2 separate regions of the Homo sapiens genome follow, and region 1 is linked to region 2. Evidence: promoter capture Hi-C in 16 types of primary human blood cells and fetal thymus (Javierre and others, 2016). All regions are on one chromosome and are shown on one strand. Each heading gives the region's core, a stretch centred on a gene start or on the middle of the fragment in contact. The rest is flanking DNA. Distances are from core to core; before and after follow the strand shown.

Evidence for each region. The method cuts DNA at HindIII sites, captures the fragments that hold promoters and counts their contacts. A CHiCAGO score of 5 or more calls a contact.
Region 1: a contact is called between a fragment that was not itself captured here and the fragment with the promoter of TAT in region 2, in 2 of 17 cell types (naive B cells and total B cells). The highest score is 6.1, in naive B cells.

Annotation. Positions count from the first base shown.
Region 1 is chr16:71,404,058-71,411,459 of GRCh38, forward strand. LINC02136 (long intergenic non-protein coding RNA 2136) reads right to left here. Exons shown (of 3, transcript NR_146574.1): 3 at 6,384-6,477. Among named protein-coding and RNA genes, the nearest start is that of LINC02136, 19 kb to the right of the region's middle. The HindIII fragment of the contact is 1,539 bases long and covers 3,391-4,929 here.
Region 2 is chr16:71,575,842-71,583,421 of GRCh38, forward strand. It overlaps TAT (tyrosine aminotransferase), which reads right to left and starts at 1,251. Exons shown (of 12, transcript NM_000353.3): 1 at 1,168-1,251; 2 at 340-586; 3 at 81-185. The coding sequence starts at 574. The HindIII fragment of the contact is 5,727 bases long and covers 847-6,573 here.

The sequences.
Region 1 (7,402 bases), core at 2,910-5,409, 170 kb before region 2:
TTGTTAAGAAGCTGCAGAGACACAGGCAAAAGTATGGCAGGGGAAAGAGATGGCCCAAGAGGGCAGGGAGGCCACACATCCTGGAGAGGAGGCCCCCTCACCCAGAGCATGTCTCAACTGTAAGATACAATAAATCTTTCTGAGTTTCTCTTCAAAAGGTTTAGCCTGTTAACTTCCTTATCCTTTGTTCTCAAACTCAACTTTGTTTTTCCTTGGCCCTAGTTACCGTAAACAGCCTAATCCTTCCCATCAGCTCTAATCAATAACTCACATCTGTTCCCTTGGTTACCTGTACCAGTTGTTCCCCAGAAACTGCACGTCTCACAAGCTCCACCTCTGTACCTCATGTCCCCCTCCTCTGCTATATTTAGGAAAATATGTACAAGTAGCCAGTCGGGTCAGCTCAGATTGTGTGGTCCAACCCCAGCTCCTGGGGGAGTGACACAGAGATAGGGACTGTGTTAAAGATAAAAACCCCCTGGTCTCCTTTGTTCTGTGTGCACTTGGGATCTTGATTGACACAAGTGACACCCTTCTGCAGAAGTAAATTGCCTTGCTGAGAGGATTAAACTTTTGCCTGCGTGTGGTTTTACTTCCCGGCACTGAGCATTTATTCCTGGAGTATTTTATATCCAACACAACCAATGAGAGACAGGAGCTGGTGGGTCAATACCCTAATTTTTGGTGCCATTTGCTATCACTCACTGCCCTCATCTTGCCTGCCTCACCCTCCCCAGCATCCAAAGCACAAGTCAGAAAGCAGTTGAATCTCAGGGTGAGAACAAAGTCTGACACATCCATTCATGATGAACCCAGAGGGCAAAACACTGTCCACCGTGGTTTAAAAGAGGCAGTCCTCTTCCCTTCCAGATGGAAAGAAGAGGTGTCACTGAGCCACAGCCGGGAGAACAAGGGAGGCCCAGGTACAGCCAACGCTCTCCTGAAAATTCAAGAGGAACCTCACACAAGCCTTCAGGACGCCGTCTACAGCAAGTCATGGTTCTGCAATGCAAACAAAGTCAGGAAGAAAGAGGGAGGTTTGAAAACAATGCGGCCTTCCAGGCCCGAGTGAGAGGATGGGTCAGCCGGGCAGGAGTGACCGTGTAAGTATCGCAGCAAAGGAGGCTGAGTGCTCCCTGCATCAAATCAATGCTCATCTGGATAATGAAAGTACACCCTCACAGGCCTCCAAGAAGGTCACTGGCAAAACGTCCCACTGGTGGACAGACACCTGATCAGCAAGGGGCAAGAGCAGAGGCTGCTTGAAGAATCTAAAGCAAACAAACAGAAAATCCAAGACCTGGATAAAAAGTGAGAAATACAAGAAAGGCCTGACACAATTCCAAGTTGCATTCTGAACAAGAACACCACAAACCCCTTTTCATGGCACAGGGTGTTAAAAGAGCTCTTGCCAGCCGGGCGCAGTGGCTCACGCCTGTAATCCCAGCACTTTGGGAGGCCGAGGCGGGCGGATCACGAGGTCAGGAGATCGAGACCATCCCGGCTAAAACGGTGAAACCCCGTCTCTACTAAAAATACAAAAAATTAGCCGGGCGTAGTGGCAGGCGCCTGTAGTCCCAGCTACTTGGGAGGCTGAGGCAGGAGAATGGCGTGAACCTGGGAGGCGGAGCTTGCAGTGAGCCGAGATCCCGCCACTGCACTCCAGCCTGGGCGACAGAGCGAGACTCCGTCTCAAAAAAAAAAACAAAAAAAAAAAACAAAAAAAAAAAGAGCTCTTGCCACAGAGTCACTTGAGACACATTTCTGGGCAAATACACAAAGGAAGAGAGACTCTTCAACCAACTGTGTCCCTCCAAACAGCCCTGAGAAGTAACAGTCATCAGAGACTTCCCAGAAGATACCCTCGACCACCAGAGTTCTGGCCCTACACCCACATGGGTGAGGTCTTCCTCCCACCACCAACAGCCAACCTGTGAGGTCTTTCTCTTTTTGCTGAAGGGGCCCAGTGTAGACTGGAGGCCTCAAGACTAGTTCCTAGGGCCATCTGAGGCCTCCAGTGCAGTACCTACCTCCTATTAGATACAGCTGAGGCCCCACCAATACATACAAGAGACCCTTCTCCTCTAAAGAGCTGGGCATCAGAGGCTGCCCATGGTTTCCATGATTTCCATGATCACACCATGACAAGGGAGACCACCACCCACCAGGAGGAATTCCTAAGCCTCTTCTTCTTCCCACTTAGGGTTCTTCTTAAACCTTCTTGAAAAAAACACAATCTGTGCTTTCCCTAAATAAGGACTTCCTTTTGCCTGAGCAGGTATATGCAGACAATAATCTGAGGTTTGAGATTAAAAAAAAAATCTTTTTGACCACTGTAAAAGACTGCCACCAAACTATTTCCTCCCACCACCAATCACGAGCCAAGCCACAAAGTCCTCATCCCTCACTGGGGAGCTCAACCTCAACTGGGGACTGCGCCTGCTGGGGAAGCCCCTCCACTTTGTCCCAGGGCTCACCTGGGGTCTCTCCTGACCTTGCATCTGTGCTTTGCTGCAACCTTCACTTCTGCAGGTAAGTACACAAAAGGTACCGTGTCAAAGTATCAAAGAGGAACCAACCCGGTTCCCAAAATGATGGCGAATCCAGTGTCAGCCCAATCAACAGCTCCTCAGCCTCCCTCCCTGGTTCTCCTGAGTTAGATTCAGGAGACTGGGGTCCCATCTGTGGAGGCTGGAGGCTGGACGTGCTTCAACATTGGCTATGCTGTCTGTATACATAGCAAATGAGAGGACTCAACACTGCTAGGATAATCTGCACCACAATCCTCTGTGCAGCGTGCCTGGCTTTAAGAGAGGTATCCTTGGAGGCGTGTTTGCAATTGACTCCAAATCTGAAACCCCAGCACTGTGACCACAACACTCACAGGAAACCAGAATATCTGAAACGGTGATGACTTTCCACACTGATTTGGTCTCATCATGCTGCAACCGACATTCTAGTATCATTATTTAGAGAGTCCGGGGATAATAGCCACCTCTGCAGAGAGCTTCTTCAATGCCTTGAAAACAGCCAGCAGCATTTCTACGGTGCACACACCTCGCCCAATTCTGGACATCTCCACCTATGTTACCTTTTTCTGTGGCACAACCATGCTATCGCAAGGTGCTAATTGGAATCTTAAGCACCGAGTTCACAGGACCAGCTGCACAAATGATGGCCCAGGTCTACATGATCAGAAAGGAGGCTCCAATGGCCATGCCCAACACCATTGAGACGTTTGTCCTAGAGCTCAACTCCATGCTGATTCTTGTAATAGAAAGATATTCCATGTGATACCTGGGGCCATCAACCAACTCAGGGCAAAACTAGAACCTGCTTCTCTACGCCAAGGCATAGAGGCGCTCCTTGTTGTACCAGCTGTGTTTCCAAAGCTTGCTTCTGGTGCTCTGTGTCATTCCTGGGACAACCTCAGCAAGGAGGAATTATTATGCTGCTAAACTTGTGACTGAAGGGCTGCTCCGAAGCAAGCTCTGGAGACATTCAGAAAGAAAGTTTCTCCAAAATCTGGAGGAACATTTCTCACTCCAGAGCAGCAACACTTCTGTGAATTGTATGGAATTCCTGGGGAGATTTTAGAGCAGGTGTATAAGAAGCCAAACAAGAGAAGAGCCGAACCATCCATAGAGGATGGTGCAACAAAGCAGCAGCCAAAATCAGTGTTGGAGACCCTCCTCACATCCGGGGTGCCAAAAGGAGGTGCCCACCCACTCCCCAGGATCTTTTAGGCCACCTCCTAAATAGTGGAGACTTCAAATGCATCCAACTCTTCCACCTCTGTCTCCTGCTGGTCCTTCTCCATAAGACCCTTCTCTGATCTTTCCTCTGAATGAGGAACTACTAATTCTGAGGCTTGTGGTTAAACAGAAATGTATTCACCACAAATGAAGATTATCTCAAGATCTTGCTCCCCACAAAATTAACTGTTTCATTTTAATTGTAGCTCATATTTTAATAGTAAAGGACTGAAAGGTTTATGTTGCACTTAATGCTCTCAAAAACCTTTAGGGTGTTTGTTTGTTTGTTTGTTTAGAGACAGGATCTCACTCTGTCACCCAGGCTGGAGTGCAGTGGCACAATTATAGCTCACTGCAACCTTGAACTCCTGGGCTCAAGTGATCCTCCCACCTCAGCTTCCTGCATAGCTGAGACTACAGGGGCATGCCACTGGGCTCTGCTGAATTTCGTTTCTTTTTTTTTTTCCTCTCTTTTTTTTTTTTTTTTTTTTGTAGAGACAGGGTCTCACTATGTTGTCCAGGCTGGAATCCTTAAGGTTTGCATAACGAGAAACACAGTAAGAACCAAGTTCCAGTTGATCAGGCTGCCCTACCAGATTAAGGAACTCGTACTTTATATCCAATGGGGCTGCAGTTTGGAAGCCCTGTAGTCGTCGACTTTCCCTTTAAGCAGTGCACAGAAATAGGAAGAGATCAATAAAGCCCAGAAGAGAAATCTTGCCAAACTTCAACACAGCAAATAACAACCACTTATCGAGGGCTCAACTCCACTAGGAACATCACAAAGCAGCAGTTCTCAGTTGGGGGCAATTTTGTCCCACTCTCACCTCCCCAAAGACATTGAGCAATGTCTGAAGACATTTTTTATTGGTGAAACGAGGTGGGGATGGGGTGGAGGGTGCTACTGGTATCTAGTGGGTAGAGCCAGAGATGCTGCTAATCACCCTGCAATGCACAAGTCAGTCCACAACAACAAGGAATGATTTGGCCCCACATGGCAAGATTCCCCAGGTTGGGAAACTCTGGTATAAAATAAAGGCACCTGAAACACGCCCCTGACCCCAACCCCAGGCATCCAGTCTTTATGTCATGATCCCTCTGAACATCTTAGTTAAGCTATTGCCTTTGCTCCTAAGGGAAAAAAAAATATTTATACATGCATACACAGAAACAAAGCTTTGCAATTTTGGGGGGCAAGGTGACAGAGCAGGGGCCTTGCCATTGTGGACAAGCACCTTATTTTAAAATTCATCTTAATCAAAAACCGCCTAAAGCCAAAAGGCATCAGCCTAATGGCTAAGGTCGGCATGACCAGAAACTACAAATAACATCTCCGACCAGAAACATTCCAAACTCCTCCCCAACCAGAGACATGCTAGCCCCAAGATAACCCCCCTCTGGCTGGGAAGATGCCAGCCCCAAGATAACTAACCTCCCTCCTGCCGGAAAGACGTCAGCCCCAAGATAACCTCCTCTCTGCCCAGAAACATTCCGACCCGGCTATAGACTTCTCCCTGACCCAAAAACATTCCAAGCTTGTGATAAGACCCTCACCCTAAAACCAATATATACTTTTAGTCTGTAACAGAAAGCGCCCCTGACCAAAATCGGCCAGAAGCCCCTCCAGGTTTTATCTAAAGTAAACCTGTCTTTAAAAATTTCATGTTTTTTTCCTCTTTCTTTAACTCTTACACAAGTGTTCATCAATCCCTGATGCCCATTCAGGAACACTCCTCAATCCCAGACACCCAAAGATACTGAAGTCAGGTTCTTTTCCTTTTTCTTTTTTTTTTGTCTCGCTCTGTCACTCAGGCTGGAGAGCGGTGGCGTGATCTCAGCTCACTGCAATCTCACCTCCTGGGTTCAAGCGATTCTCCTGCTTCAGCCTCCCGAGTAGCTGGGACTACAGGTCTCCATCTCCTGACCTCGTGATCCACCCGCCTTGGCCTCCCAAAGTGCTGGGATTACAGGTGTGAGCCATTGTGCCCAGCTGAGGTCAGGTACTCTTTTTAGCGAGTATTCCCATTTTAAAAAATCTTTTTAAATAAAAAGAACCTGGCTCCAAAAAAACCATTTGCATGTATGATACCTCATTGAAACCTCAGAGCCATCCAACCGGGTCAGGTCTACCCGAATTGCCATGGACAGAGAACAAGACTGGGGCACCGAGAGGTTTAGATGACTTTTCTGTGGTGACACAGCCAGTGAGTGGCAGAGACACAGGAATGCCACCCCACCCCTGCTCTGGCCACCACCGGCACTCCAGGTTCTGACACCCCATGCCGTGGAATCGCACGGTGGGATCCCAGCTGACCCAGGGTGCTCCGTCTCCACCCTGGCTTTCCATCTGGCCCACACAGGTGAAGTGCAAAGGCTGATCTCAGAGAAACCATCAGAGGTACTATCACACTGCCTCATCAGTGACAGTCACTCTCCTGGCCAGGTGCATGGGCGTGGATGTGGATCACATCAGGTGTGGAACAGAGGCAGCGCACTCCTCGAGCCCCAGGTGTTTGTGGGAAGCCAACCATACCCTGAATCTCTCCTAGGTACAGGTAGGCCCAGGTGCAGCTCTGACAGGCTCGCCACTCCCGGGCAGGAAACCTCCCAGCCTCAGTCAGCTCCTCTTAATCAGCCCCTCTTCATCTCCAACCAGGATCACCAGTCTGCCAGGCCCCTTCCTGTGCTCCTCAGGAGGCCAGCAGTCTGCCAATATCTGGAACTTAATGAAATGAGAGTAAAAGTGAATCCCTGAGGTTGCCTTATTTTTCCTCCATTGAACCTCTTTCCAGTTCCCTCAGTCTCTCTCTGCCTTTGTTTTATAGTAAGAGGCTACATTTGGACCAGGTGAGCTACTGGTCACGCAGGAGTCGATCTTGCTGTCCTCCTCTGGCTGGACACTATGGCCTGGAACTGACTTCCAGCTCAGGAGTTTGAGCCCAGGAAGCTTATCCTCTGTTTTCACATGCTAGTAGTCACCCTTTTGGTCTGATTGCTGTTGAAAACCACGCAATACAACACCTGCAACTCTGTCGGAAGCCTGTGACAATCAAACTGCATTCACCCAGACTGTGTTCAGAGGCGCATATGTCTTAGAGTTTGCAAATGCATATATTCAAGTCTAAAATCTGTGTTTCAGAAAGCAACAGCCAACCAGATTTAGCAAGTCCCACCCATTTGCCGTAGGTACACCAGACCAATTTTTTAAATGAGTAAAACATTTTTTTTTTTTTTGAGACTGAGTCTCACTCCATCGCCCAGGCTGGAATGCAGTGGCACGATCTCAGCTCACTGCAACCTCTGCCTCCTGGGTTCAAGCGATTCTCGTACCTCAGCCTCCCAAGTAGCTAGAATTACAGCATGTGCCGCCATGCCCAGCTAATTTTTGTAGTTTTAGTAGAGATGGGGTTTCACTATGTTGGCTAGGCTGGTTTCAAACTCCTGACCTCGGCCTCCCAAAGTGCTGGGATTACAGGCATGAGCCACCATGTCCAGCCAAAACATTATTTTAAAGCTAAGCTCCCCACCCTCTTGCTATTCCTTTGGTTCCCCTCTCTCCCCGGGACAAACCCCATTCAACTCTAACATGCATCCCATCTCTGGATATTTCTCACTGTTACAAGGCAGTCATGTAGCCAGGACCACCG
Region 2 (7,580 bases), core at 1-2,500:
GATTGCTAGACATTTAGTCCTGTTATAAGAGCACTAAAGATTTGGCAGTCACCAGGTATGGAGTCTCAGGAGGAGCTTACCGATGGATGGGGCATAGCCATTATATTTGCCCGAGTCCAGGGCATCTTTCATTGCCTGGGTAACTTCAGGGTCTGTAGGCAGGTTTCCAAACACAGTAGGGTCCCCTTTTTATGGGAGGAAAACACAAAAGGAGCCAAGAGGTTATTCTCCCATGTTCAGTACTCAGACTCACCCCCAACTGCCATCTTCTCCAACCAGCCTGTGAACATGAGAGTAGAGGAGGACAATGACAGCCCCTCAGTAGTGTCCCCAACTCACCAATGGACAGGGAAATCATGGTTTTGTTTGGATTTGGTTTCACCTTCATGTTGTCCACAATGGCTCGGATGGGGTTGAAAGTTTTCTTGGCCATGTCTGAGGGCCTCACAGACCACCTGGCCTTTCTGCCTTTCATTTTTCCCGGCACAGAGCTTCTCCCACCAACGTTGACATGCACGTCCAGAATTGAGGGGAGGTTGCCTTTGCTGCTCATCTGAATCATGTATGGGTCCATCACTAGCGAAGCCTGCGAGGGGAAAGAAGTTCCCTGTGATGTTGATAACATAGCGCTGGGGGACAGAGGAGCTACATTTGGACCTAAACATTGGGTGACTTCACTAAAAGTGTCTTTCCAAACTCTCTCTTTATTTTTTTTTCTACTTTCTGTTGTAAAGTAGCTTTACTATGAATGGGGGAGTTTTAAGAGTTTTTACTGAGATGGAAAATAAAGCAAGAACCCATTCTACTTAAGTAGGATTTGCTACACGCATCTGCAATTCCTGTCAAAGCTTAACCATGCTCTATGTGAAACCAAGAAGGAATAAGATGAAAATTGTTCATCAGTCAAAGCATAGGTTCTCCTTCCTTTCCATGCGAGCCTATCCAAGAAAATCTACCTAATGCTTCTTGTCATCTGCAGAGGACCAGGAAGAACCACTCCATCTTGTTAGAAGTTCCATGTAAATATCATTGTTAGTAAAAGTAAAACCTTATCCCATAAGCATGTTACAGCCCTAGCTGGAAAAAGAAATCAATACACCAAAAAGAAAAAAATTAACAGCTCAATCAGTCACCACTGCCTGATCAGCTTGGGCTTGAGATTTTTACCTTCCAAGTAAAGGAGAAAGCAGCCTCCAAGAAGCCAACCCCGAAAGCTCCCTTAGCTCTTCTTTGACAGGTTACAGGGGCAATGAACTCAGATGCAAATCCTAACTCCTGAAATAGTCTCCACAAATGGGCGTTGGGCTTGAAACTTTCATGCCATTGGTTGGAATGACAACTCAGCAGCCAGCTCTCCCCTCAGCTTCTTTCCTCCTCTCCCCCGTCATTGCCTCTCATCCCTAAGCCCACCTCCCACCCTCAAAGCAGGAATTTGTCCTCACTTCAAACATCTGGAATTCTCCTGTGTTAACTCTTTCTGGGCACTTGGTGAGATGGTTTGAGAACATCTACTGTCAGAAAGTACTTCTGGTTACAGTTGATAGCTTTTATTAAATTTTTTTTACAAAACAGCCTGTTAAAATTTTAACAGTACAGAAATATATAAAGTAAGAAGTGAGCATTCTTCCTTGCACCTGCTCCCTGTACACTTCATTCTCACTCCCAGGGGTAGAGGGTGGTAATGGTCAGGCTCTTTCCCTCCATTCAGAGATAGATACATTACATATAGGTGCATAGATACATAATTTCATAGATTTCAAAACACAGATAGGATCGTGCTCTACACCTTGTTTGGCAACATTTTTTTTTTAACTTCCTACATCTTGGACGCCCATCCTTGTCAGTCCACAAAGTTTTGCTCCAATCAGAACAAATTGGGCACTTAAGTTCCATTCAACAAATAGCTGAAAAGCACAGGGTGTCCAAGGCAGCTGAAACCTGTGCAGTTTTATCCTTGCACTGTGCATGAATTCTTCATTTACCTCCTATGGTTGTTGGAAGAATTTAAAATGTCAGGTGCGATCCACACAAAACAACTTTGCTAAGCAAAACACAAGGTCCACAGCCAAAATCTCAACATTCCTGTGAGCAGATGGAAAATACCACCCACTGAAGGGTTAAGAGAAGCCTCAGTGATCTCCCCAGGGCTCAGATCCTGTCTGTTTATTTGTTGGAAGACAAAGATTTTTCACATCAGTTTGTTCTTCTCCATTCACTTTTCAGGGAGTCAAGCCTCCAGTGGGGTTGAATACAGTAGTCCCCCCTTATCCACAGGGAGCACACTCCAAGACCTCCAGTGGATGCCTGAAATTATGGATGTCTGAAACCATGGGTAGTACTGAGCCCTAGGTACACTATGTTTTTTCTTATACAGTAATGGCAGGTAACGTCTATAGCATGGATACACTAGAAAAAATTATTCACGTCTTGGGCCAAGGGCATCCTTGTCATAAATGTTAGTTTACATATTTGATTATTTCCTTAAGACAGATTTCTATACAAGGACTGTGTTGCAAAGAATAAGCATTTCTCTTTTACATTTTTAGTAAATATGATATATCCTTATATAATAAATTCAAATAGAGATGTACGTGAATTAAACCCTGATCACCTTCCCTCCCTGCATTCTCATTTTATATAAAAAAATCATTTTTAGTCATTTCTTGTGTACCCTTCCAAATGTTTTCTATGTTTATTACAATACGTATAAAGCTGGTTTGGGAGTTGCTAAAAAAATGGAGAGTAAACGTGGTCTATAGTTGCACTGTCTAATATTGTAGCTACTAGTCATAAGTGGCCGTTGAATACTTGAAATGTGACTGGTCTGAATTAAGATGTGTTGTAAAATACACATCAGGTTTTGAAGACTTAGTATAAAAAAAGAATGTTAATATCTCATATAATTTTGTATGATTACATGTTTAAAGAATATTTTGGGGCTGGGCATGGTGGCTCACACCTTTGGTAATCCCAGCCTTTCGGGAGGCCAAGGTGGATGGATCACTTGAGCTAAGGAATTCAAGACCAGCTTGGGCAACATAGTGAAACCCCGTCTATACAAAAAGATACAAAAACTAGCCAGGCATGGTGGCATGAGCCTATAGTCCCAGCTACTTGGGAGGCTGAGGTAGGAAGATCACCTGAACCCAGGAGGTCAAGGCTGCAGAGAGCTGTGATCATGCCATTGCACTCCAGCCTGGGTGACAGAATGAGACCTTGCCTCAGAAAAAAAAAAAAAAAAAAATATATATATATATATATATATGTATATATATATATAAAATGTATTTTATTTTACTCAGTACACCGTATATATATAATAAAATATATAATAAAATATATGATAATAAAATACATGGTGTGCTGAGTAAAATAAAATACATTCTTAAAATTAATTTCACCTATTTGTTTTTATATCTTAAAATATTTCTATTAGGAAATTTGAAGTCACTATGTGGCTTGCATTCTGTCTATTGGACAGGGCTGTTCTGTAGCTTGCTTTTTTTAAAATCTTAATAATGTGTGGGCTGGGCGTGGCAGCTCATGCCTGTAACCCCAGCACTTTGGAGGCCAAGGCAGGCAGATCATCTGAGATCAGGAGTTCAAGACCAACCTGGCCAACATGGCAAAACCCCATCTCTACTAAAAATACAACAATTAGCCAGGCACAGTGGTGCACACCTGTAATCCCAGCAACTCAGGAGGCTGAGGCAGGAGAATCGCTTGAACCCAGGAGGTGGAGGTTGTGGTGAGCCGAGATCGTGCCACTGCACTCCAGTCTGGGCGACAGAGTGAGACTCCGTCTCAAAAAATAAAAAATAAAAATAAATAGCCTGGTGTGGTGGCTCACGCCTATAATCCCAGCACTTTGGGGTTGCTGAGGCAGGCGGATCACGAGGTCAGGAGATGGAGACCATCCTGGCTAACACCGTGAAACCCCATCTCCGCTAAAAATACAAAAGTTAGCCCAGCCTGGTGGCGGGTGCCTGTAGTCCCAGCTACTCGGGAGGCTGAGGGAGGAGAATGGCATGAATCCGGGAGGTGGAGCTTGCAGTGAACTGAGGTCGCGCCACTGCACTCCAGCCTGGGCGACAGAGCCAGACTCTGTCTCAATAAATAAATAAATAAAATAAAAAATAAAGCATATCGAATGTCCTTGTACATTCATGATTGATAGAGAACTTTTATGCATATCCTGTTATTTGAGGGATAGTTTCAATTACGGACTATACAAAGACGAAAGCAATGCAAATATGTTTAATTTGAACAACCTCTTGGAGTTCAGACTACCTGTCATGACAATATACTGTGCTTGAGAGATGACACAGGTACCTCACTGAGTGTTACTGTAGTGGTTCTCCAGGTGGACAGAGACTCAGAGGTGTTAAAAAAAATTATTCAATAACACTTGTTAAAGCATGGTAAGGCAGACTTTATTCAGGACCATTCCAATAGCTAGACGGCCCACTGCAATGGATTTTCCAGTGGGGAAGAGAAATTGGATTCAACTCCAAATATGGTGATGGCAAGTGTGGATTTATAGCCAAGGATGGAAAAAGTAAGAGGAATCATCAGGAGTAAGGGGGATTCTGCTAAACTGACCTAGAAGGCCAGTGTCAGTGTCATCCTGCTGAAGACAGGCCATGGTGACCAAACATTCCCTGGGGGACGGCAAAGAATGAGGAACCTGGTCAGATATGCAGGGTGGGAAATCTTGCCAAAATGACTCAGGGTTCTTTGCTAAAACTGGATCTTGCAAGGAAGTGCAGATGGGCTTAGAAGAAGATCCAGAAGCCTGACAAAAGTCTGGTCAATCAGAGAATCTTTGTCAGAGGTTGAGACCACTGGTCTTTAAAAGAGATCAAGTAAGAATCAGATTTTTCTCAATGTGAGAAGGCTACTATGACTGATTTCTGTCACTCAAGGTTCAGATTTTCTTTTCTTTTTTTTGAGACGGAGTCTCACCCTCCTCACCCAAGCTGGAGTGCAACGACGCTATCTCAGTTCACGGCAACCTCCGCCTCCCGGGTTCATGCCATTCTCCTGCCTCAGCCTCCCGAGTAGCTGGGACTACAGGCACACACTACCACATCCGGCTAATTTTTGTATTTTTAGTAGAGACGGGGTTTCACCATATTGGCCAGGCTGGTCTTGAACTCCTGACATCAAGTGATCCTCCCGCCTCGGCCTCCCAAAGTGCTGGGATTACAGGCGTGAGCCACTGCACCTGGCCTCAAGGTTCAGATTTTCAAGGAGACACGGATCCAACTCCCCCTCCCACATTTACACAGCCTGTAAGATTGGTGTCCTGTCTCCAACTGGACATTAAACCAGGAGACTTAGATTATTCCCTTATAGGTTGTGACCCCTGGGGTCTTCCCTTTTTATCTTGGGAGCTCAGGCATTTTGTTATATTTTATCAAGTATGTCTAAATATTTTTGTAATGGAAGATTTTCTAGGTTATCCTGTCCTCAATACAGCCAGAAAAGGAAATCTGTCTTCTTCCTTACTTAAAATGTCACTTTGTACTAAATTCCTGTATCTTCTTGACTCTCTTTCTGGCATATGCTATTCCAGAATGAACATTCTTACAGTTTTTTATACACACAGCCACATTGCTTTAAAAAAGGCCATTTACCTTTCTATCAGTAATTGTCTGCAAACCCTGGGAATTATTTTCTTAAAAAAATCTTTGCCAAACTGATTGATGGAGGAAAAATGGTATCCAAGTGCTGCTGTTATTTCTGTTAACTCTGTCCCCTCTATTTTAGCGAGGGTGGTCATGTTTCATGTTTCTTTGCTCTTCCCATTTTGTGAATTGTCTGTTCATGTCCCTCACCCGTCTGTCTACAAGGGGACTCATCTTTCTCGTAGGTAGGACTTTGGCCTAGGAAGCCACTGCAAAGCAACAAGACAGCTGCTTTGAGATCACTGGCCCAGTCTCCTCTGTGTCAACCTGACTGGCTGAGACTCAGGTTTACAGATCAAAAAACAGCAAGCAGCACAAAATTTTGGCGGGTTGTCCTGCAAATAGTGCCGCTGACGCAGAATCTGCAGGCCAAGGGGTGTGTGATGGGGACAAGAGCTGCTGTACCAGAAGGTCATCACCATGGACACACCCTCGCCTCGGCTTTGGCAGTTGACAACGAAACCTAAATCAGAAGGAAAAACAGACAAGGCAAACAAGTTTTGGTCATGCGCTCTTCTGTAGCTAATGTTTTCCCTCGGTAGAAAGCAGACAGAGAGGGCCAGGCGCGGTGGCTCACGCCTGTAATCCCAGCACGTTGGGAGGCCGAGGCGGGTGGATCACAAGGTCAGGAGATCGAGACCATCCTGGCTAACACGGTGAAACCCCGTCTCTACTAAAAATACAAAAAAAAAAAAAAAAATTAGCCTGGCATGGTGGCGGGCGCCTGTAGTCCCACCTGGAGGCCGAGGCAGGAGAATGGTGTGAACCCAGGAGGCGGAGCTTGCAGTGAGCCGAAAGTGCTCCGACAGAGCGAGACTCCGTCTCAAAAAAAAAAAAAAAATGCAGACAGAGAGAACGTGAGAGGACCCAAGTCTACTTAGGAAGCTTTCCTGATGCCAGATAAACTTTACAGGGAAGTCAGGACCCAGTAAAGTGTAGAAACACTCGTTTTTTGTTTGTTCGTTTGTTTTAAGACAAAGTTTCGTTCTTGTTGCCCAGACTGAAGTGCAATGGCACTATCTCAGCTCACTGCAACCTCCGCCTCCCATGTTCAAGCGTTTCTCTTGCCTCAGCCTCCCAAGTAGCTGGGATTACAGGTGTCCACCACCACTCTCGGCTAATTTTTTGTATTTTTAGTAGAGACAGGGGTTCACCATGTTGGCCAGGTTGGTCTCGAACTCCTGTCCTCAGGTGATCCACCCGCCTCAGCCTCTCAAAGTGCTAGGATTACTGGTGTGAGCCACCACACCTGGCCTTTTTTTTTCTTAAGTATAAAATTGTTGTTTGCCATTTTGTATTTAAAATTTTTTAATTGTGGTAAAAAAAAATACTTAACATTAAATTTACCATCTTAACTTTTTTTAAGAGGCAGGGCCTGGCTCTGTTGCCCAGGCTGGAGTGCAGTGGTGTGATCATAGCTCACTGCAGCCTCAAACTCCTGGGCTCAAGTGATCCTCATACCCCAGCCTTCAGAGCAGCTAGAACTACAGATACACACCACCACGCCCTGCCAATTTTTTATTTTATCGTAGAGACGGGATCTCGCTATGTTGTCCAGGCTGGTCTTGAGCTCCTGGCCTCAAGTGATCCTCCCACGTCAGCCTCCCAAAGTACTGGGATTACAGGCATAAGCCAGCATGCCCAGCCAACTTAAACATTTTTAAATGTACAGTTTAGTTTATTCACGTTGTTGTACAACAGATCTCCAGAACTGTTTCATCTTGTAAAACTGAAGCTCTACACCCATTAAGCACGAATTCCCCCTTCAATTTCCCCTTAGCCCTTCACAACTACCTTTCCACTTTCTGATAGAAAAGTATTTGTGAAATAGCGCCATCACCTAGAGATAACCACTGTGAACCATTTTGCCCACAATTAACATCTTGAAAT